Regions from separate parts of the Homo sapiens genome. Here all the other regions are linked to region 1. The links are contacts of gene promoters, found by promoter capture Hi-C in blood cells and fetal thymus (Javierre and others, 2016). All regions are on one chromosome and are shown on one strand. The core of a region is centred on a gene start or on the middle of the fragment in contact, and the rest is flanking DNA. Distances in the headings are between cores, read along the strand shown. Region 1 holds the start of C11orf65 (chromosome 11 open reading frame 65). Region 2 overlaps NPAT (nuclear protein, coactivator of histone transcription). Region 3 overlaps NPAT (nuclear protein, coactivator of histone transcription). Region 4 overlaps ACAT1 (acetyl-CoA acetyltransferase 1).

Region 1 (6,521 bases), core at 2,752-5,251:
TTTGGACTCTGAGGCAAGATAGACCAGGGTTTAAATCTCAACAAATTCTACCTCATTCTTAGCTGCATGATTTTGCCGAAGTTACTTAACTCACTCAAACTTCAAGTTACTCATCTGTAAAATATGGGGACTCATTGTACCTAACTCATAGAATTGTTAGGATTAAGTCAGATAACACAGGTAAAGCATTTAGTATAGTTTCTGACCCACCATAGCCACTCAATAAATCATATTATTATAATACAAACTATTTTCCAAAATAAAAACTATTCATGTGCATTATTCCAGTTAGGAAACTGAGATAACATTTTAAGTACAATTATTCTCTTAATTTACAAATAACTGTTAGCACAAATGAGATTAAGGAATGATATTTCAGGCCTAAAAGATTTGTTAATTTTTTTTTTTTTTTTTTTTGAGACAGAATTTTGCTCTGTCACCCAGGCTGGAGTGCAGAGACATCATCTCAGCTCACTGCAACCTCCACCTCCCGGGTTCAAGTGATTCTCATGTCTCAGCCTCCTGAGTAGCTGGGATTACAGGTGTGTGCCACCACGCCTGGCTAATTTTTGTATTTTTAGTAGAGACAGAGTTTCACCCTGTTGGCCAGGGTGGGCTCGAACTGCTGGCCTCAAGAAATCCACCCGCCTTGGCCTCCCAAAGTGCTAGCATTACAGGCATAAGCCATTGCGCTCAGCGGCAACAATTTTTGTAGGATAGTTTTTACAAGTGGAATTGCTATGACAAAAGGTATGCACATATATATTTCTGTTTTTTGTTTGTTTTCTGAGACGGAGTCTCGCTCTGTCGCCAGGCTGGAATGCAGTGGAGCGATTTTGGTGCACTGCAACCTCCGCCTCCTGGGTTCAAGCGATTCTCCTGCCTTAGCCTCCCCGCGATTTCCACTCACTGCAACCTCCGCCTCCCGGGTTCAAGTGATTCTCCTGCCTCAGCCTCCCAAGTAGCTGGCACTACAGGTGTGCACCACCGTGCCCAGTTAATTTTTGTATTTTAAGTAGAGATGGGGTTTCACCATGTTGGTCAGAATGGTCTCCATCTCTTGACCTCGTGATCCACCCACCTCGGCCTCCCAAAGCGCTGGGATTACAGGCATGAGCCACTGCGCCTGGTGCACATATATATTTGAATTGACTCTCTCTGGAAAGGGATATGAGAAATTACTAAGAATGATTGTCTCTAGGAAGGGACCTGTGGACTGAGGAGCCTGGGTTCGGAAAGGGAAGAGATGTTTTTGTTCCAGTATACTCTTTTATGCTGTTGGTATTTTTCCACAATGTGCATTTAGTTCAGATATATACAATATAACTTCATTAAAAAAAACAGCGTGCATATTGAAACCTAACACTGCCAAACTGTCCTCAAAAATGGTGTCTAATTTATGCCCATAAACATTCTATGGGAATGCTTGACTCTAAATTTTAGAAAAGTAAAAAACTAAACGTAAATTAGATATTAGGATTAAAATGGGTCTTTTAATACTTTCCAAGAACTAAACTGTGAGATTTTTTACCTGTTATCAATGTAGTGTGTGTGTTATTTAACGTGACAGCATTAGCATTAATTCATCACAATTTCATCATTTTCCCAAATACATTCCCAATTTTGTAGGTGGAAATTTAACACTGGATCTTAAAAATCCCTTGAAAATCCTGAACCAGTTTATTGAATACTTTGATCTAAATAATTTTACACGGGCTTTCTGCATACACCTGCTTCCTGCTTCTCTAGTGACATAGGCTAAAGGGTGTTTAGAAGCTGCCAAAAAAGTATGTCATAAATGCCACCATTATATGTTTATGAATACACAAAATATAGAGGAAATATATTCCAGCATTCAAAATTATCTGATTCAGAAATAAACAATGAAGTTCCACAATTTCAAGAAAGAACATATTCAATTGTGTCAAATATTGTTGCAAGGGCAAGTAAATACAGAGGAAAAAAAGGGAGATTTGGCCAGATAAAGTCACTAGTGACTGTACAGGCACTGCTTCAGTGGAGTAAGCAGGGAAGGAAGTTTGGGTTGGGTTGAGGAAGTGGGAAAGTTGAGACAGTAAGTACAGTAGTAATTCTTTGGAGTGCTGTAAGGGAGCAGAAAAATGGGGTGTAGCTAGAGAGTGAGAATGGATTAAAGGTTTTTTTTTAAAAAAAAAAGGCTGGGCGCGGTGGCTCACGCCTGTAATCCCAGCACTTTGGGAGGCCAAGGTGGGCGGATCATCTGAGGTTGGGAGTTTGAGACCAGCCTGACCAAAATGGAGAAATCCCGTCTCTACTAAAAATACAAAATTAGCTGGGTGTGGTGGCGCATGCCTGTAATCCCAGCTACTCAGGAAGGCTGAGGCAGGAGAATTGCTTGAACCTGGCAGGCGGAGGTTGCGGTGAGTCGAGATCATGCCACTACTCCAGCCTGGGCAACAAGAGTGAAACTCGGTCTAAAAAAAAAAAAAAACAACAACAACAACAAAAAACGACAGATTCTAAAGCATGTTAAAATGTACCATCCAGTAGTGAGGGAGAAATTAAAGTGACGGAGAACTTAAAGGGGCAAAAAAAGGGATAAGTTAAATGGTAAAACCTTTGAGTAGGTGTAAGAGGACACCATCTGGAGCAGAAAGGAGGGTGGGACCGTTGCTGGCTTTAGATAAGAAATAAGATCGACTTTATATGGTTATTATGATGCTCCAGATAAAATAACCATTGTGAAAACCCTTCATAAGTTTTAAGATACTAAAATGTACTACCAGGCCGGGTCTGGTGGCTCAGGCCTGTAATCCTAACATTTTGGGAGGCCAAGGTGGGCAGATCACCTTAAGTCAGGGGTTTGAGACCAGCCTGGCCAATATGGTGAAACCCTGTCTCTAGTAAAAATACAAAAATAAACTGGGTGTGGTGGCGCACACTTGCAGTCACAGCTACTCGGAAGGCTGAGGCAGGAGAATAACTTGAACCCAGGAGGCAGAGGTTGCAGTGAACTGAGATCACGCCACTGCACTCAGCCTGGGCAACACAGCGAGATGCCTTCTCAAAAACAAACAACAACAAAAAACTAACCAAATAAAATGTACTATCAAACAACTGCTCAGGCAATGAAGTATTTTACTACACCCATGTGCCACTTGTAGATTCACAGATAAGTATTTTCCAAGCTTATTATATCCCTAATCAATAAAATTTTTTATCATAATAGATGATGTTTTCACTTATTTATTTTTACGCTTCGTGGAAAAAAGCCCACAAGACGTGTTTGGATTCTTGGTTTCACTTTTAAAGCAGCAAACAATCTTTACTTTGCTTGAATTGGAACCTGTATACGTCCTATTTTGTTTCCTCTACTAAATTTATTGAATAAACAAATGATTCGCGTGGCCTTTATAAGTTTCGTAATTTCGCTTTTCCTTTTTACCTGTGGTCCTTGATGCTAGGGGCAGGAGAAGAAAAACTAACCTATTCTTTAAAAACGCGTTTCCCTTTTCCATCTCTAAAAAAACTGAAAAGACGTAAAACAAATGGGAGGGGGCAAAGGAAAGAAATGAGGAAAAATCTAAGGAAGATTAATGTGTACTTCCCGGTCAGCGGGAAGGTGGACGGAGTAATATCTTTGCGGAGGATTGGGGTGTGGGGATCTGTGAAGGCGCAGTATGAGCAGTAAGGACTTGTCAACCAGCCCGACGCAACTTCACCGAGGGCGAGGAAAGGAGCTCTGAGGAAGGGGTTACTCCCGGGCAGGACTGTAAACCAGCTGGAGGCCTCGCTGGGAGGGCTTTAGAGGAATGAAACGTCCTTAAGAGGGGCGGATGGGGAATGGTATCAAGGGTATGGGTTCTTTAGGGCCTTGAAACAACGAAGGCTCAAACCAGTGGGCACAAAGGCTACCGGAACAGTAGTACGCGCTGAGAGAAGGGACACTATTCCCTTCACCTACCAATCGCTGCTGGCCCGGGCGCCGCTGGACTCCTAGGTAACGTCGCAGGCGGAAATGACGTAACTCAATCCGTTCTGTCCCGCCCCATTGCCCTCCTAGCCCCGCCTTCTAGGCCCCGCCTTTCCTCTATTCGCGCTCTGACAAAGTGCAGGGGATATAGACCAACCGCTTGTGAAGGCTGCTGGTTCTGTTAGAAGCCCGCTTTCGATTGTCAGTGGCTTTGAGGCAAAGGATTTTGGAAGGGAAAGCAAAGTGATTGTCTACGAAGTTGGGCTTAGTATATAATAAAGCCCAGTCATTTCAACCAAGAACCTTAAAGATGTTGAGAAATATAATGAAATATTTTCTATTAATTTTTGTAAAATTTTTCTTGAGATAGGGTCTCAATCTGTGGCCGAGGCTGGAGTGCAGTGGCGCGATCTCGGCTCACTGCAGCCTGGAACTCCCCTGGCTCAGGTGATTCTCCCACGTCAGCCTCCCGAGTAGCTGGGACCGTAGGAGTGCACCACCACGCCAGGCTCATTTTTCTATTTTTATTAATAGTGGCGACAGGGTTTCTCCATGTTGTCCAGGCTGGTCTTGAACTCCTGGGCTCCAGCGATCCCCCCCTACCCCATCTCCCGCCTTGGCCTCCCAAAGTGCTAGGATTACAGGCGTGAACCACCGCGCCCGGCCTATTTAATTAGTTTAATTTATTCATTTGAAAATGAGACAACTGATCCTTCTAGCTATTTGACAGGTCTTGCTCAAGGTCAAAGAATACGTGACTTGCAGTCCAATGTTATTTCTAAATGTAAGCTCTTCAGCTGGTTAAGCTAAACTGCTTTAAGTGAAAACAGACGACCTCTTGAATGAGTTTTCAAATGACCTTAAATAATGCAAGCACTGCTTATCTAAAGCAAGTCTGACTTGCTTGAATTCTGAGTCTGACACTTTGGCAGTGCTTTAGTTGGTCACAGATTATTGCAATGTGAAAAAATCTTGTTCAGAACTGCCCAGTTTTGCTATGTTCGTCCTATGTTCATGCATGGAATATAATTTGTTTGTAAGGAAGATAAACTTTTAAGGAGGGAAAAGAAACACCTGAAGAGAAATTTCCCTGTATAATGAAAACATTTGTACAGAAAAAATTCTTGGTAGGTTAATTCAGTGACTCACTGAACTTCCAGAGTTCTTTAAAATCATCACAATCATAAGCAAGGGGTGAGCTTCAGTTCCTCTTTATGTAGTTGCCTTGATGCATTAATACACAGTAGTTATGAACAATAAACTGTAAAAATATAGTCATGGAAACATTATGTATATCTTAATTTTCAATCTAATAGAAACTGGGTTAAAAAATTTAAATTCAGGCCAGGTGTGGTGGCTCACACCTGTAATCCCAGCACTTTGGGAGGCTGAGGTGGGCGGATCACTTGAGGTCAGGAGTTCAAGACCAGCCTGGACAACATGGTGAAACCCCCTCTCTACTAAAAATACAAAAATTAGCCCAGCCTCCCAAGTAGCTGGGACTACAGGCGCCCTCCATGATACCCGGCTAATTTTTTGTATGTTTAGTAGAGACGGGGTTTTACTGTGTTAGCCAGGATGGTCTCAATCTCCTGGTGGCGCGCTGCCTGTAGTCCCAGCTACTCAGGAAGCTGAGGCAGGAGAATTGATAGAACCCGGGAGGCAGAGGTTGGTTGCAGTGAGCCGAGATAGCGCCATTGCACTTCAGCCTGGCAACACAGCAAGATTCCCTCTAAAAAAAAAAAAAAATTAAATTCAAAATTACACAACAATGTGAATGTACTTAAGTCCACTGAATTGTACAATTGAAACTAGTTAGAAGGATAAATTTATGTATATTTTACCACAATTTAAAAATTTTAAATTAAAAAACTGCAAAACTAAGCCAGTAAATAATTTAGAACAAAAATTCCTAAATGTACTGGATGAAATATAAAAATAAATTTAAGGTATACTGCTGTTTAGATATTATTTTTATTAGGTTGGTGCAAAAGTAATTGCGGTTTTTGTCATTAAACATACATAATTAAACATAATGGCAAAAACCGCGATTACTTTTGCATCAACCTAATAAACTGCATATTTTTAATGTAGTGCTTATCTGAATTATTTTAAAAAGTATTTACAATAGTTACTGTTGAGTACTTATGTTACCTCTAACCTGATCCACAAGAATTCAGCAATTTCTACATAACAGGCTAGAACATTTTCTTATTGCTCTAATACATGTAAAAATTGTTCAGTTCTTTAAAAGTATCTTTCTTTAAAGTAGCCACAAGGGATCATTAAGACTAGAAACTGTCAAGTGTTAGGTTTATTCATTTATATGTACCTGCTTAAATCTAGGAACAGTTTACTAAGACGCAGAACTCAGAAGAACTTCTGGGTGGTTTCACAGAAATCGTTCCTTCCTTCCTTCTCTCTTCCCCTCTCCACTTATTCTCTTCCTCTTCTTTTTCTCTCTTCTTTGTCTTACTACTATTATACAATATATCATATTATATTTATGAAATTAATATTCTTGCTTTCCACTTACAAGGCAAAGATTTTTCTTTATAAACCATGTGAA
Region 2 (6,305 bases), core at 1,926-4,425, 270 kb before region 1:
TGGATACCAACCTCTCTGACTGCCAGCAAACCTTGGGGAACTTTGCATGCTCCTAACAAAGAAAACAAAGTAGTTATCCATCAAAAAATGTTTGTTGCTGACATCCACTATGATTTAGTTACAGTCAGACCTCAAGTTAGTTATGAGGTAAAAGGCAAAAAATCTCTCTCAGACAAAAAAGACAAACACACACATTTTTTGGGCAAGCAACTGTGATTTGCTTTAGGAGAAAAATAGTGGCATGTAGACACACTCACAACACACATAATTTTCATTAAGAAGTTTCTATCCAATGTAATAATGCATTAGAGTGCCTTGACATTACGTTAAGAATGCAATCTGGGCTGGGTATGGTGGTTCATGCCTGCAATCCCAGCACCCTGGGGGGCTGAGGTGAGAGGATCACTTGAGGCCGAGAGTTCATGAACAGCCTGAGCAACATAGCAAGACTCTGTCTCTATAAAATGAAATAAAAATTAGCCAGGTGGCATGTGCCAGTAGTCCTAGGTACTTGGGAGGCTGAGGTGGGAGAAACTTTTGAGCTCAGGCGTTCAAGGCTACAAGAGCTATGATCACACCACCGCATTCCAGCTTGGGTAACAGAGTGAGACCCTACCTCTTAAAAAAATGAACAGAAGATAATTTAACTTTAGAAACTCTACATATTAACATTTTTGAGTAAGAATATACAAAGTATACATTTTTTATTATCTTTCACAATTATAGAGATGCCTTCCCACAGAGAAATTCTGATTTCACATGACTCCATATATAAATACTTCAGAATCCCCAAGTTGATGTCAGAGGACATCCAGCTTTTATAAAATTTATGACTATGAAATTATTTTATTGTACCTCTAAAGAAGATGCCAACAAACATGGAAAAATTCACAGTACAAGTTAATTCTTTTAGTATGAATTAGAGTGGCCCACCCCTTTATTCGATAAAGTCACAGACACGGTGCCATTATCATAAAAAATATGTCAAGTAAGTCTCCAACAAGATCCACAAAACTCGAGTCAGGAAAGAGAAATATAAAGATAAGACTACCAAGTAAGATGTGGTCCAGAGTTAAGAAGAAAGCATTTGGAGCCATTTTAGCAGGTTAAGCAGAGGAAGAAAATGAAACCCATGCTGAAGTTAGGTGGGGTAGTCACTTATAGCTCTGAAAGAAAGGTTAAGAGACTATGGTTTTCATAACAAATTCTATAGTCAAATATGAGATTTTCATAAAATTGATAACAGAAGATTTCAGAATTAGCATTATTCTTCAAGCTTTTTTCTTTACAAGTTAAGAAACCAAGTGGGCATGGGTTCAACGCATCAATTCTGTGAATATGTAATAAAGAGACAGTTGCCTAAGGGAATTCACAGTGGCCTGGGATTAGGTGATTTGTATTCTAACAATATATCTGCCTTTAAATTGCTATGGAAACTTGGAAATGTCATTAAACTACTACATATCTTAGTTTTCTAAATATTTTATTAAAAGTATGCTATTTATTTCAAATTATGTCAGTCAGTAACCTCCACAGTACCAGCAACCTCTAGAGTAATTTCAAAACTGGATGAGTGTTATATAAGTACACTGTGTAGGTCTTAAGAAGATTTAAACCCAAAGTGTATTTGCATTCCAAAATCATTAGGCACATTCTAATAGCTTATTACCTGATCTGAGAAAGTGTATGGTCCAATTTCTTCCATAGAGATGACATTATTGCTGGGACATTATTTGATGTTTCTAAATCATAGGAGAAAAGGTTCTTAATAAACCCAGCTGAAGAAATTTCATCATTCATTCTGAACAAAGACACACAAAAAACCTTGTCTCTCAATTATTGACAGTATGTTGGAAAATGAGAAATAAATCTATGTTGTAAAATAGCTTGCAAAGCTATAATGCGGTTGCTTTCTCTTCTAAAGCCACTGAGTATCAGATACAATATGAGTAGAAATGGACATCTGTAAAATCTCTGAAGCATTTTTTGGCCAATAATTTTACACCTTCATTTTATTAAAAAAAGGAGAAACAATTTTTTGATCTTTGTTCTATCTGATATCATGTGACATATGAAAGTGAATTAAAGTAATCTGTCTTATAATAATTATCATAAAGGTTATGCAAATTCCTTATAAGTGTGGAAATTTAATCCTCAATTTTCTCATATTTAAAAATGGCTTTAAACAATCTCTCTCACTGGGTTATTCTAAAGACTAAATGAGAGGCCGGGCATGGTGGCTCACGCCTGTAATCCCAGCACTTTGGGAGGCTGAGGTGGGCAGATCATGAGGTCAGGAGTTTGAGACCAACCTGGCCAACATAGTGAAACCCTGTCTCTACTAAAAACACAAATATTAGCTGGGCATGGTGGCGTGCGCCTATAGTCCCAGCTACTCGGGAGACTGAGACAGGAGAACTGCTTGAACCCGGGAGACGGAGGTTGCGGTGAGCCGAGATCGCGCCATTGCACTCCAGCCTGGGCAACAGAGCGAGACTCCCGTCTCAAAAAAAAAACAAACAAAGAAAAGACTAAATGAGAAAAAAAACATATGAAAGCACGTAGCACAATGCTTATACACAGACAATGTCAAAAAATGTCAAGCTTCTTTTCCTTTGTTATCATCTTATGCGAATTCTTTAGTGCTAATTGTTTTGTTAATGTTGTAAGCTATTGAAAATAATCAATATTAGAGAATAAGCAGTCAAAACTTTCCCTCTAAAACATCCTTAATTTAGGCAAGTAGAATTTTATATTCTAGTAACTATAAGCCAGTGTATGACTGGCTTCTGTGTTCAGACTTAGACTACATAGAATTAAAATTAAAATGTCAGTTTAAAACTTTTTAACACATAGTGATGTCTGTTTATCAGTGTAGATAACACAGAGGTAAGAGTTTTATTTTACATATTTTTTAAAGGTAGTTTTTGGGTTATTTTTGCTAACATAAAGATTGTTGCAATTTATGTACCACTCAATGTAAACACAAACAAATGGCTGGGGGCAGTGGCTCACACCTGTAATCCCAGCACTTTGGGAGGCCGAGGTGGGTGGATCACCTGAGGTCGGGAGTTCGAGACCAGCCTGACCAACATGGAGAAACCCTGGCTCTACTAAAAATACAAAATTAGCCGGGCATGGTGGCGCATGCCTGTATTCTCAGCTACTTGGGAGGCTGACTGAGGAGAATCGCTTGAATCCAGGAGCTGGAGGTTGCAGTGAGCTGAGATTACGCCACTGCACTCCAGCCTGGGCAACAAGATTGAAACTCCGTCTCAAAAAAAACCAAAAAAACAAAAAACAACAACCAAAAAAACAAAACAAAACAAAAAACCAAAACCCACAAACAAATTAGATGTGTCCCAGAAAAATTTATCTCATTACAACAGGGACAAGTTTTTTCAAGGCTTTTATGAGACATTAATAACCTTTAGAAATCATTTTTAACTAAATCAAGTAGATAAATATTGTATACATCAGCAAAAAAACTCCAAATCAGAACTCTTACCTTTTGTTTTCATAGCTACATACTCATTTAAAATTGTTGTCAAGTTTTTTCCAAATAAGGACTGAAAAGAAAAAGATCAAATATTACCAAAATTGTATAATACTACCAATAATTTCTCACAAGAAAAGATTCTACCATTCAACTTAATAAAAGATCTGACTGCAGAGTAGCGATGAGGAAAGGGTAAAGAAGCAGGTAATCGAAAATGAAAATAGCCACTGAAATTAGGGTTTGCATCCAAGCTTCTAAAGAATCTTGCCTGTTTGACTAGGACATTATAGCTACTTGGGTATCACTGCTTCCAGACCCTCTCAGCAGACAGCTATACATACATGTACAAATGCATATACACAAGCATTTGTATCATCTAGCTGTATATATATATATTAAAATAACTACAGTGTCATACCAATATCTCAGACTATAACCCAACACCACTGGTTTCATTATTATGTTTATTTGTATCTTCTTCCTCACACAGTGAGAAATCTGGCTCCCACTATCTACAATTTGTTATTTGTTCAGAATTGTTAATTTAGAAGAAATCAGAAGGATTTATTTAATATTCATCCACGTTATTGTGTGAATCAATAGCATGTTGCTTTCTATTGCTGAGTAGTGGAGTATTGCTGTTATGAACACATCAGAGTTTGTCAATTTTTGAAAGACATCTTCGTTGTCACCAGTTTTTAAAATTTATTTTTATTTTTTAGAGACAGGGTCTTGCTCTGTCACACAGGCTGGAGTACAGTGGCTGCTCACAGCTTACTATAGCCTCGAACTCCTGGCTTCAAGCCATGTTCCTACCTCAGCCTCCCACAGTGCTGGGATTAAAGGTGTGAGCCATCACGCCTGGCCTGTTTTCAGTATTTTTTTTTTTTTTTTGAGATGGAGTCTTGCTCTGTTGCCCAGGCTGGAGTGCAGTGGCACAATCTCGGCTCACCAAAACCTCTGTCTCCTGGGTTCAAGCGATTCTCCTGTCTCAGCCTCCCGAGTAGCTGGGACTACAGGCGCACGCCATCATGCCCAGCTAATTTTTGTATTTTTAGTAGAGATGGGGTTTCACTATCTTGGCCAGGATGGTCTTGAACTCTTGACCTCGCTATCCACTCGCCTTGGCCTCCCAAAGTGCTGGGATTACAGGTGTGAGCCACCACACTTAGCCTGTTTTCAGTTTTTAGCCACTATAAGCAAACACCAGTGTCTAGGTTTTTCTGTGAGAACAAGTTTTCCAATTGATTTGGGTAATGTGAGTGTTGGTTCACATGAGGAGTACATGCATAATCATATAATCATGTCATAATCATGTCAAACTGTTTTCAAAAGCCACTGTATGACTTTTAATTCTTACCAGTAAGAAACAAGAGTTCCTGCTGCTCTGCATATTTGTGGTGAAGGACTTGCCAGTTTTTAAACCTGTTTTCTTATTTTAGCCATTCTAACAGGAATTAGTATCTCACTGGGGTATTAATTTGCATTTTCTTAATGACTAATGATATGGAAGATCTTTTCATATGCTTATTGCCATCTGTATATTTTCTTTGGTAAAGTATCTTCAGATCTCTTATCCACTTAAAAAATTGTTTGGTTTTTGTTGTTAAGTTTTAAGAATTCTATACATATGTTCTGGGTACAAACCCTTTATCAGACATGTAAGATATAAATATTTTCACCCAGCCTTTTTTTTTTGGGACAGGGTTTTACTCTGTCACCCAGGCTGAAGTGCAGCCGTGCAGTTGTGGCTCACAACAGCCCTGACCTCCTGGGCTCATGCAATCCTCCAGCCTCATCCTCCCAAGCAGCTGGGACTAAGTGCACCACTATACCTGGCTAATTTTTAAAAATTGTTTTCTAGAGATGAGGTCTCACTATGTTGCCCAGGCTGGTACAGAACTCCTGAGTTCAAGCAATCCTCTTGCCTGGGCCTCCCAAAGTGCTGGGATTATAGGCATGAGCCATTGGGTCTGGCCCAGCCTATTTCTTCTAACGTGCCTCTTGTAGAGCAAGTTTTTAATTTTTTATAAAGTTGAATTTGCCTAATTTTTGCCTTTATAGCCCATGCTTTTGGTGTCATATATAAAACTCACTGTCAAATCCAACTTTGCACAATTTTTTTCTTATGTTTTCATTTAGAAGTCTTACGGTCCTGTGTTTTACATTCTGATCCATTTTGGTTAATTTTTGCATAAGGTATGAGGTATTTGTAGAGGTTCTTTTTCTACATATGGATGTCTGAGTGTTCCAGCAACATTTGTTGATAAGACCATCCTTTCTGCAATGAATTGTCTTTAATCCTTTGTCAAAATCAGATGTGTGGGTCTCTACATGGACTTGTATGTGGTTCCACATGCCTAAACTATCAAAAATGCCCCTTCATCTCGATTATCATAGTTTTTTAGTAAGTCTTGAAGTCTGGTAATGTGAGTCCTCCAAGTTGTTCTTTTTCAGAAACTGTTTAGGCTATTCTAGTTTCTTTTCCATTTAAAACTTAGAATTCAGCTTTGTGTTATCTATAAAAATGCTTGCAGGCATTTTGACTGTGAAAAATCTATAATTAAATTGGGAGGAACTAACACCTTAACAATATTGAGTCTCTCAATTTGTACACACAATACAATTCTCCTTTTATTCAGGCCTTAGATCTCAGGCAATTTTGAGCATTTGGATTTCACACATATTTTGTTAGATTATCTCTAAGCATTTTGTTTGTTTGTTTGTTGCTATTATAAACGGGTATTTTCAAAATCCAATTGTTCATTGCAGGCATACGGAATATAATGGATTTGTGTATATTCTG
Region 3 (6,463 bases), core at 2,436-4,935, 300 kb before region 1:
TGTTCCATTTGTCTTTTTGTTTTAATTACTGTGGCTCTGCAATATTTTACCATTTGGTAGAATGAGTCTGTCCTCTGCTCTTCTATCTTGGCTAGTCATGGACTTTTATTCTTTCTCATAGATTTTATAGTTTTTCCCATCTCCCAAAATATTCTACTGGGATTTTTAAGGAAAATTACATTGAATTTTTGATTCAACTTGGAATAATTGCAATCTTTACACTGTTAAATTTTCAAATCTATGAACATGGTTCTCTTCTATTTATACATCCTTTATGAAAGATTTCAAATATTCTCCATTTCTAACATTTTTGGTTAGGTTACTTCCTTTATACTTTATCATTTTTGTGGTCATTATAAACAGTATCTTATTTTGTATAACACTTAATAGGTGTTTATTGTTGGCACCTAAAACACAATTTTAATTAACCATACCTGGCAACTTTACTGAATTATTAGTTCTATTAATTTTTCTATTAACTCCCTGTGGCTTTATTGTGTAAAAATCACATCATTTTCCATAACAGTTTAATTCCCTCTCTTCAAATCTTTACACCTATCTCTTTTCTTTTCTGAGACAGGGTCTCACTGTTGCCCAGACTGGAATGCAGTGGCATGATCATGGCTTACTTACAGCCTCAACCTCCTGGACTTAAGCAATCCTTCTGCCTCACCCTCCCGAATAGTTGGGACTACTATCTGCCACCACAGCTGGCTACTTTTAAAAAATTTATTTTCTAGAGATGTGGTCTCACTATATTGCCCAGGCTGGTCTCAAACTCCTAGACTCAAACAATCCTCCTGCCTCAGCCTCCCAAGGTGCTGGGATTATGGGGATGAGCCACCATGCCCAGCTCCATTTTCTTACTGTATTGTCTGGAACCACATATGTATGGATGTATGGGACCTTGTTTATGGTGGAAGTATAATCAGATGTCAGTGGGGCAAAAAACTGATTACTTAATAATTAATTTACTGGTGTTGGAAACACTGGCTTATTACATACAGGGTGGGAATGAGTATCTTTGTGTTATTCACAGCTTTAAAGGGAACCCATGATGTTTACTATAGATAGCCTTTAAGAGCTTTTATCATAAATGGATGCTTAACCTCACCAATGTTTTTTTCTGGTATCAACTTTGTAAGGGATAAAAACAAGTGTCAGACTGTGAAGACATCTGTGATATGTTACTAATAAAAGTATAACACCTCAACAGACAGGAAATTTAATAGAGAAGTAGGAAAAGGATATGAATAAGCAATTCACAGAAGGGAAAATATTATTTATAGTTATAAGAGAAGATTCCAAACTTTATTAGTAATCAGAATAAAGTAAAAGAATGATATGAGATACTACCACTTTAAATCCATCATAGTGGCAAAAGTTAAAATATCACATGGTATCAAATATTGGTAGTGTTGTGAGGGAAGCAGGGAAAATAATGGTAGAAGTATAAATTTTCTTCTCTATGACTCAGAAATTCTGGGTCATAGAGAAGATATACTTCTTCTCTATTATACCCAGTATACCCAAAGATTTCTGGGAATAAGCCCCCAAAGAAACTCTCATATGGGTTCACACAGAGGCATTTACAAAGATGTTCCTCATATCATTGCATGTCACATCGAAAACATCTGAAAAGTCCACTGATAGGACATATATAAAATACATTTATGCAAGTGATAGATATCAAATGGCCATTAAAAGGAATGAACTAGTTATAAGAAAGAACATAAAAATAATATAGAGTAGCTATAACAGGACATAAGTCTAAGAGGGTGCCTCAATAAGTCAAAATGCAACTTAAGCCTACATCAATAGATGTATACTGTTTAGTTTAAGGAAAGGCTGATTTGATAGCAGTTAGTTGAGTTCTCTGTATAATGAGTGCATTTAAGATACTCAGACTACTGAGAAGAAATACAATGTAATGTGTTAAGTGCTGTAGCATAGGTATCACTAAGAATTAAAGAAAAAAATAAAACCGGAATATCCACCTCAGCCACCGCTGGTTAAAAATGCTTCCTAGGAACATTTAAGTTAATTTCGAAGGATAAATAAGAACCAGATTGAGGGTAAGAGTTGGGTAAGAAGGGGGAATTCTAGGTAGAAGAGATAGCATTGGTAAAAGGTACAGGGACAAGAAAGATCACCAAGTATAAGGTGAGCAGCAACTATAGTTTGTACAAAGGGTCCATGCTGGGAAGTGGTAAGAGATGAGATGGAGAGGTCGAGAGTGACTAGATGACAAATGTATGCACATATGTCACCCTGAGAAATTTCAATTTTATCCTTTGGGCAAAGGGGAGTTGCTGAAAGTTTTTAGGCAGGAAAGCAACATATTCAGATTTGTATTTTAGGGAAAAAAAGTCACTCAGCCAGCAGATATGAGGTGAACTGAAACAACAGAGACTAAAAGAAGGGAGACTACATGACACTATTGATACAACTTAGATGAAAAATGACAAATACTTGAACTAAGAAGGAGAGGAAAATGTGTTTTAAGAGTGACTACCAGGTTTTTCACAAGTAAACAGATGGTTGGGACAATGGCTAAAACAGGGAACACAGGAAGGTAATTTGCAAACTTTAAAGCCTTGCTTCAAGTGTGGTCCAGTACCAGCAGCACTGGCATTGCTTAGAAGCTGTTAGAAATGAGGAATTTCAGGTGCTGTACCAGACCTATCAATTCAGTACCTGCATTTAACAAAATCCCCAAATAGTTCATATACACACTAAACTACAAGAAGAACTGCTCTAAAGTCTCATACAATTATACGAGGCATTCATTAAACACTTGAAAGCTGTTGGGAAAAATAGGGACTATACTTAATTTAGGGAAGCTGCAAAGAACAAACCAAGGACTACTGGGCAAAAGCTAACAGATTCAACAAAGGAGACAATTTTCTCAGAACCAAAGCTGTTCAGTAACAGTTGGCTGCATTATGACATCTGTTACTAGCAAATGTAGGGTGATCACTTGTTTTAAAATGGTTTAGGTATTCAGAAAGAAAACATTTAGGTGTTGCTGCAAACAAATGAACATACAAACATAAAGTTAACATTAATGAAATTAAAAATGGTACCTATACAAGGCTTGTTTCTTAGTCCCTGAGCCTTCTGAGATTTTGGAGGGACGGGGAATTGAGGGATACTTCTATTGCATACAGGTGCTGTCAAAGGCATATGAAGAACCTGGAAGAGAAAAAGCCATTAATTACACTAAGCTTGAAAAGCATCACCACACCATTTTCAGTTCATAAATCTTACCTGCCGAGGAGGAGTAGAAAAGTTATTTCCATTCTGTCCAACCACAGATACTGGGATCATCCCTACCATTCCTTGGAGTACAGGCTGGACTGGAGAGGCAATTATTATGGCAGATCCTAAAAAAACAATTCTTGTTAAAAAAAGATTTTCTCTGAAATGTTTTGGCACAAAACAAACAAATGTTTGGCACAAATTAATTACTGCTTTGAAATAAATTCTATGAACAATCCCTCTTCCTTACGATCCACTCTCCAAAAACAAAACAAAACAAAACAAAAAAAACGAAACTGAAACAGTTTTAGGAAAAACAGCAAGGCTAACAAATTAAGAAAAAGTCAATCCAAATATTAAGGTGGTCTTAATGTTATTCAGTCAGTGAACCATGCTGATCAAGCATAAGACTCTACAGCCAAGACATCATATTACAATCATATCTGGATTCCTCTAGAAATAATGAAACTAGTTAGAAAATGAGTGGTGAATGTTTCAAGTCTGAACCTTACACCAGAAAATTACAACCCCAACTGAATATTTATACCCAGGACTACACTTGTAACCCCAACCTATTACATATCTCAATGGTATTGATCAAAAGGGGGTAAGGTAAGCACGTAACTGGTCAAAACTATGGAGGGAAAATTACAATGTCTACATGGTCCTCAGAAGTCAACAACATAGTTTGTGGCTACTGTAATTTAGTCCTGTCCATAAACAAACTTTTGCCTAATACACTACTGTCAGGTTGATCCCCTCATTTTCATGCAACCTACTACGGTCTCTCTGTCTATGCTGGTGCTGCTTCTCTTTATAACTTACAGATTTTATAAGTTATAAAAACTTCCTTGCTTTAACTCCAAATCCTACCTTCATTCTTTAAGCTTTAGCTCAAGCCCCACATTCTCTATTAATTCTGACCTCTCCTTTATGTAATTTGTAACAGCACGTAAAACAGACCCATTAGGTTTAATACTAATTGTTGATATTTAATGAAATTTTATTGTATGTCTATAATGTAACAAAAAGGGAAAAGAGGGAAGCTTGGGAACCAACACATAAGGAAATGTAAATAAATGTGCCATGAGCACTATCTCTGAGGAACATACAATAAAAAATTATCAATATGATAGGCATATCAATCACTAACTACATATAACACAGCACGCAATAAATGCCACAAGAGCCCCTATGAAAAAAGGATTTTTTTTTTTTTTTTTTTTTTTGGAGACAGAGTCTTACTCTGTCACCCAGGCTGAAGTGCAGTGGTGCGATCTTGGCTCACTGCAACCTCTGCCTCCCAGCTTTAGATTCTTCTGTCTCAGCCTCCCAAGCAGCTGGGATTACAGGTGCCCACCACCATGCCAATTTTTGTATTTTTAGTAGATACGGGGTTTCACCATGTTGGCCAGGCTGGTCTTGAACTCCTGACCTCGGGTGATCTGCCCGCCTCGGCCTCCCAAAGTGCTGGGATTACAGTCATGAGCCACTGAGCCCAGCCATAAACAAAGGATTTTAAAGACAGAGATCAATTAGAAAGGATTTTATAAAGGAAGAAATTCAAGTTTTTTTTTTTTTTTGAGACAGAGTCTCGCTCTTGTTGCCCAGGCTGAAGTGCAATGGCATGATCTTGGCTCACTGAAACCTCTGTCTCCTGGGTTCACGAGATTCTCCTGCCTCAGCCTCCCAAGTAGCTGTAATTACAGGCACCTGCCACCATGCCTGGCTCATTTTTTTGTATTTTTAGTAGAAATGAGGTTTCACCATGTTCTCGAGGCTGGTCTCAAACTCCTGACCTCAGGTGATCGATCGGCCCACCTCGGCCTCCCAAAGTGCTGGGATTACAGGCGTGAGCCACCATAACCGGCTGAAATTCAAGTTTTTCTTGAAAATTTCTCCAAAAAGATGATGAATTCCCTGAAGACCATGACTATAAGAGCTATTTTTAAAAACTCCCCCACAACATTGGGTTTTATACAACTATGTGATGAATTAGTCTGTCTTTTCTGTTTATTGTAACTTACTAGCACATAGATTGAGAAGTATTTGTGAAAAGAAAAAAGAAAAACCACTAAAGCCCATAGCTTACTAGCAGATTAAGAAAAATAAAAAAGGTTTGAATTAGCTAGCATAAAGAAGCAGCGTAATCACAAATTTCAGAATCTTTTCTCATACCATCTACTCATTAGTTATTACTTCGCAGTCAATAACATCACATACAAAAGAAATTAGATCCCAACCCAGAGAAACAAATTTCAATTATGTTATTAAAGTTACCTTGTGAAAAGTTTGGTGACACAGCTTGGTTGACAGCAAATACACTGTTTGACCTTGGTGGTGTCTGTAACTGAGGTGGTAGAGGTTGAGCAGTCATAGGTGCAGAATTTCCAGGCAACACCACTACATTAGACTGACTTACAGATGTTCCTAACGCTGTTGGATCAGTCACACAGGTAGCTATCAGAATGTTATTTGAATTGCCAAAAGCTGTGCTTGTGGCTGGCATCAACTGTATATATCCTCCATCCTTGGAAACACATGGTGTAACATTAGCTGAAAAAGCAATGCCATCTTCATTCTGAGTATTGTTTACTGCAGAGTCTTCAGATTTGAATGTTAAAAGACTCTGTTCCATTGAGGCTGAATCCCCTACTTCGGCATATACAACAGCACCTACAGTTTCTTCTGAAGATAGGCATTTAACTAGTTCTGCATTTTTAGTAGGTGATTTAGTAGGAGAAGACAAGATTATAGTTGGCAGGTTTTCTCCATTAATACTAGAAACAGCACTGGTAAGTTCAGTATCTGAGGAAACAAATGGATCATCACTAATGATAACTTTGAGAGAGACGATATTTGATGCATCTATCTCTGCTGAGTTGTTGCTAGAAGGTTTATCATCAGTATTTTGGGACTCAGGGTGAGAATCTCCCACTGAAGAACACACAGATTCTGGAGGAAGAGAGTGACTGTTTTCTACAGGAGTGCCTTCTGGAGGCGTCAGTGCAACTTTCTCACAGTTAGCATTTCCACCTAAAGAGAGAAAAATAGTATTCTCTTCTTTTACAGAAGATGAAGGCTCCTGTGAATTCTCAGACTTGGATGCCTGAGCTTCATTTTCTGTATGATTTAACTCAACAGATGCTGAATCATTAGATGGTTGTTTAGTAGAAGACAGCGAATCTCCAAGATGAATTTC
Region 4 (3,991 bases), core at 58-2,557, 330 kb before region 1:
CTGTTGCCCAGGCTGGAGTGCAGTGGCACAGTCTTAGCTCACTGCAGCCTCCGCCTCCTGGGCTCAAGCAATTCTCCTGCCTCAGGCTCCCGAGTAGCTGGGACTACAGGCACGTGCCCCCATGCCCGGCTAATTTTTAGTAGAGACGGGGTTTCACCATGTTGGCCAGGATGGTCTTGATCTCCTGACCTCATGATCTGCCTGCCTTGGCCCCCCAAAGTGCTGGGATTACAGGCATGAGCCACCACCTCCGGCCTAAGAAATATATTTTAAGAAACGTTAACTATTAAACACTATAAGTTAGGCAAAGTTAATAGATATTTTCTAAATTATGCAAAGTTAACTTTAAAATATTTCAACTTTTTATCAGGGCAGCTGTGCTGAGAATACAGCAAAGAAGCTGAATATTGCACGAAATGAACAGGACGCTTATGCTATTAATTCTTATACCAGAAGTAAAGCAGCATGGGAAGCTGGGAAATTTGGAAATGAAGTTATTCCTGTCACAGTTACAGTAAAAGGTAGAGATAATGTTCCAAAAAGGATGAATAGACTTTTCATGTTGCTGAATGTTTTATGCTTAAGTTTTAAATTAGGACATTATCTTGGTTCATTTCAACTGCTTATGGTTAATAAAAAGTGAAGAGTTGCCAGTTCAGAGAGAATATAAATCTACCCAACTTAATGTCAGATTTCAATCCATTTATAAGATCCCTGAGTATTACTTTAAATTTGAGAAATTTATTAGAACTTTTTCCTGTGACAGTCAATACGGTATTTTAAATTGAAAAGGGATTTACTAGAAGGTTACCGGGAGTGCCTCCAAGAACTGAAGGATGAACAGTAGCAACCATTCAGCTCTGGGAACTTCAGGGATTGGAACTGGGTGTTCACTACTACTAAGACATGCTCTCTTGGCTTCTCACACCTGCAGGCTTTTGTGCTTTATTCTCTCAGCCTTTCTAAAGTTGCTGCCTCTACCTCTAGGGTCACATATATAGGGTTCTCAAAAAGGAGAGACTTTCTCACCAGTTCCAGCAGAATAAATCCACAATGAAGACTCATTAACTTGCTTTAGGTTACAATTCTATTCCAGGAATGATTACTGTGCTCTAGGTGACAGAATACTAGAGCTTATCTAGTGTAGGTCAGACAGCTGCCTCTGGGGTCAGGAGAGTGGGGTCTGTGATCATAGAAGGGAGTTGAGGAAGAAAAGGGGACATGGAGGTGTAGAAGATTTAAATTTTGTGGCTGGGTGCAGTGGCTCACACCTGTAATCCCAACACTTTGGGAGGCCGAGGTGGGAGGATTGCTTGAGCCCAGGAGTTTGAGACCAGCCTGGGCAACGAAGTGAGACTTGGCCTCCACACAAAAAAATTAAAAATTAGCTGGGTATAGCAGCACACGCCTGTAGTCCCAGCTACTAGGGAATCCAAGGCAGGAGGATCAATTGAGCCCAGGAGTCCGAGGCTGCAGTGAGCTAGGTTTGTAGCATTGCACTCTATTGGGAGACTGTGCAAGACCATTTCAAACAAACAAAATTAGCTGGCTGTGGTGGCTCCCACCTGTAGTCCCAGCTACTTGGGAGGCTGAGGTGGGAGGATCACATGGGCCTGGAGAGGATGAGGTAAACTGTGATCATGCCAGCCTAAGCAGGAGAGGGAAACCCTGCCTCAAAAAAAAAAAAAAAAAAAAAAAAAATTGTGAAGCTACTTTGTAAGTTTCTCTTTTTAAGATGGTAACATAATAGAGGTTATAGTTAACAGATTCTAGATGAGTGTTTACTTGGGATGGTTTAAGTGAAGCAGGGATACAAAGGGAGGCACAGACTACTAGGCATCTTGTACAACAGTTGCTTGCTGAATGACTACTTGTTTTGAGCGATTTTACTTAAAATATTTTTATTTTAGGTCAACCAGATGTAGTGGTGAAAGAAGATGAAGAATATAAACGTGTTGATTTTAGCAAAGTTCCAAAGCTGAAGACAGTTTTCCAGAAAGAAAATGGTTAGTGTTAAGAAATGAAGCATAAGAAAAAATTGAGCCAGTATACCATATCTAGTTCTTAGAATTGCCTAAGGATTTTGAAAAATTCTAGAAAACATCTAGATGTTATTTAACATTTTCAGTATATCAGGCTCATGTAAAATTGTTTTGGTAGTTTATACCTTCAATATATAAATCCCAGGGAAGATATGTATAACATGACTATAGAATTCAGTTTTTCATATGTAGCAGTCTATGATAGGGTCTTCATTGGCATTGAAAAAAACAGATTTATTGATATAATTTATATACCATAATAACATTCTTCTATTTAAAGTGGTTTGGTAGTTTTTAACATTCATTTATATTTATCTCCAGGTGATTCTAGATAAGAATAAATATCTGATTTGAAAAATATGTAGTGAGTACCTGCTATATATTGAATAAGGAAAGTTAGACCCTGGAGACAAAAATATTAACTGGTCCCTATGTTTCAAGAGTTGTAGACGAGCATTTATCCAGTGCCATCATGCATGTTTGTGATGTTTGAGAAAACTGTTTTATGTACACAAAAAGGCATTCTTACATTGTCTTGCAGTTAGCTGTGTACATGTTTCCTGAGGGCAGGAATTGTCTCCACCCATATTTGTAATTTCTTTAAACATTTAGCAGCCCAGGCAATAGGTATTTGTTGAATTGAACCAAATACATTTATTGTGAAGGAATGTTTTGACTTCAACCTCATTTTTGCTTTCAGGCACAGTAACAGCTGCCAATGCCAGTACACTGAATGATGGAGCAGCTGCTCTGGTTCTCATGACGGCAGATGCAGCGAAGAGGCTCAATGTTACACCACTGGCAAGAATAGTAGGTAAGGCCAGGCGAGGTGGCTCACACCTGTAATCCCAGCACTTTCGGAGGTTGAGGTGGGAGGATTGCTTGAGCCCCGGAGTTCGAAATCAGCCTGGGCAATATAGTGAGACTTCGTCTCTACAAAAAGTTAAAAAATTAGCTGAGCATGGTGGCATGTGCCTGTACTACCATCTACTCGGGAAGCTGAGGTGGGAGGATGCCTTGAGCCCAGGAGTTTGAGGTTGCAGTGAACTGAGATTGTACCACTGCACTCCAGCCTGGGTGACAGAGCGAGACCCTGTCTTAAAAAAAAATAAGGTTTCTAAACATCTATAAGCTCTTCATGAAATTGAGTTTACTTGTTAGATATAGCCAACTCCAATATTAAGTATTACTACCTAGGTTGTACTTGTGGCAGAATTTAATTGATACATATTTCAATTGAGATAGAAGCTCCTTTAATATTTTCATTATACTTTATATAAGATTAAGCTTTAAGGGCTGGGCACAGTGGTTCACGCCTGTAACCCCAGCATTTTGGGAGGATAAGGCAGGATTGCTTGAGGCCTGGAGTTTGAGACCAGCCTGGGCAACACAGTGAGACCCCACCTCTGAAAGAAAAAAATTAGCCAGGTGTGGTAGCATGCCTGTAGTCCCAGTTACGTAGGAGGCTAAGGCTGACGATCATTTGAGCCCAAGATGTCAAAGCTGCAGCCAGCCTAGGCAACAGAGCAAGATCTTGTCTCTTTTTCTTTTTTTTTAAATTAAGCTTTAAAAAACTTCCTGTCCTGTATGATAAATAGCAGAAAATAAAGTACATGCATTTTCCTACAGAGGCAGCTATGTAGGAAAAAAAGAATATGGGATTAGGAGTCCAGAAATACAAAATTTACATGTGTGGTGTTTTAGTATTTATTAACTCTGTGGCCTTGGGCAAGTTCTCAATGTCCTTAAGCCGATTTTTAGCTGCAGAAATCTGTCTTGCCTTCTTCCTAAGGACTTAACAGATGCTATTTTGTTACTTTATAAAAAGCCTTATAACTTCATTTTTTTTCTTAGCTTAGATCATGGTTTCTTAACCTCAGCACTATTGACTTTTGCACTAAGTAATTCTTTGTTGTAGGGACTGTTCTATGCATTGTAGATGTTTAGCA

The links. Contacts are between HindIII fragments. The CHiCAGO score rates a contact against its expected background, and 5 or more counts as called.
Region 2: a contact is called between a fragment that was not itself captured here and the fragment with the promoter of C11orf65 in region 1, in 1 of 17 cell types (total CD4 T cells). The highest score is 5.5, in total CD4 T cells.
Region 3: a contact is called between a fragment that was not itself captured here and the fragment with the promoter of C11orf65 in region 1, in 1 of 17 cell types (naive CD8 T cells). The highest score is 5.3, in naive CD8 T cells.
Region 4: a contact is called between a fragment that was not itself captured here and the fragment with the promoter of C11orf65 in region 1, in 2 of 17 cell types (total CD4 T cells and naive CD4 T cells). The highest score is 5.8, in total CD4 T cells.

The regions. Positions count from the first base shown.
Region 1 is chr11:108,463,528-108,470,048 of GRCh38, forward strand. C11orf65 (chromosome 11 open reading frame 65) reads right to left here and starts at 4,002. Exons shown (of 9, transcript NM_152587.5): 1 at 3,944-4,002. RefSeq lists a silencer at 1,895-2,189, enhancers at 3,221-4,073, 4,014-4,158 and a cis regulatory region at 4,086. The HindIII fragment of the contact is 4,195 bases long and covers 3,166-6,521 here.
Region 2 is chr11:108,190,449-108,196,753 of GRCh38, forward strand. NPAT (nuclear protein, coactivator of histone transcription) reads right to left here. Exons shown (of 18, transcript NM_002519.3): 3 at 3,509-3,569; 4 at 1,670-1,742; 5 at 12-52. Among named protein-coding and RNA genes, the nearest start is that of NPAT, 29 kb to the right of the region's middle. The HindIII fragment of the contact is 1,146 bases long and covers 2,603-3,748 here.
Region 3 is chr11:108,166,658-108,173,120 of GRCh38, forward strand. It overlaps NPAT (nuclear protein, coactivator of histone transcription), which reads right to left. Exons shown (of 18, transcript NM_002519.3): 13 at 5,542-6,463; 14 at 3,271-3,386; 15 at 3,087-3,195. Among named protein-coding and RNA genes, the nearest start is that of ACAT1, 48 kb to the left of the region's middle. The HindIII fragment of the contact is 921 bases long and covers 3,226-4,146 here.
Region 4 is chr11:108,139,695-108,143,685 of GRCh38, forward strand. ACAT1 (acetyl-CoA acetyltransferase 1) reads left to right here. Exons shown (of 12, transcript NM_000019.4): 7 at 371-521; 8 at 1,911-2,006; 9 at 2,743-2,856. Among named protein-coding and RNA genes, the nearest start is that of ACAT1, 20 kb to the left of the region's middle. The HindIII fragment of the contact is 4,039 bases long and covers 1-3,327 here.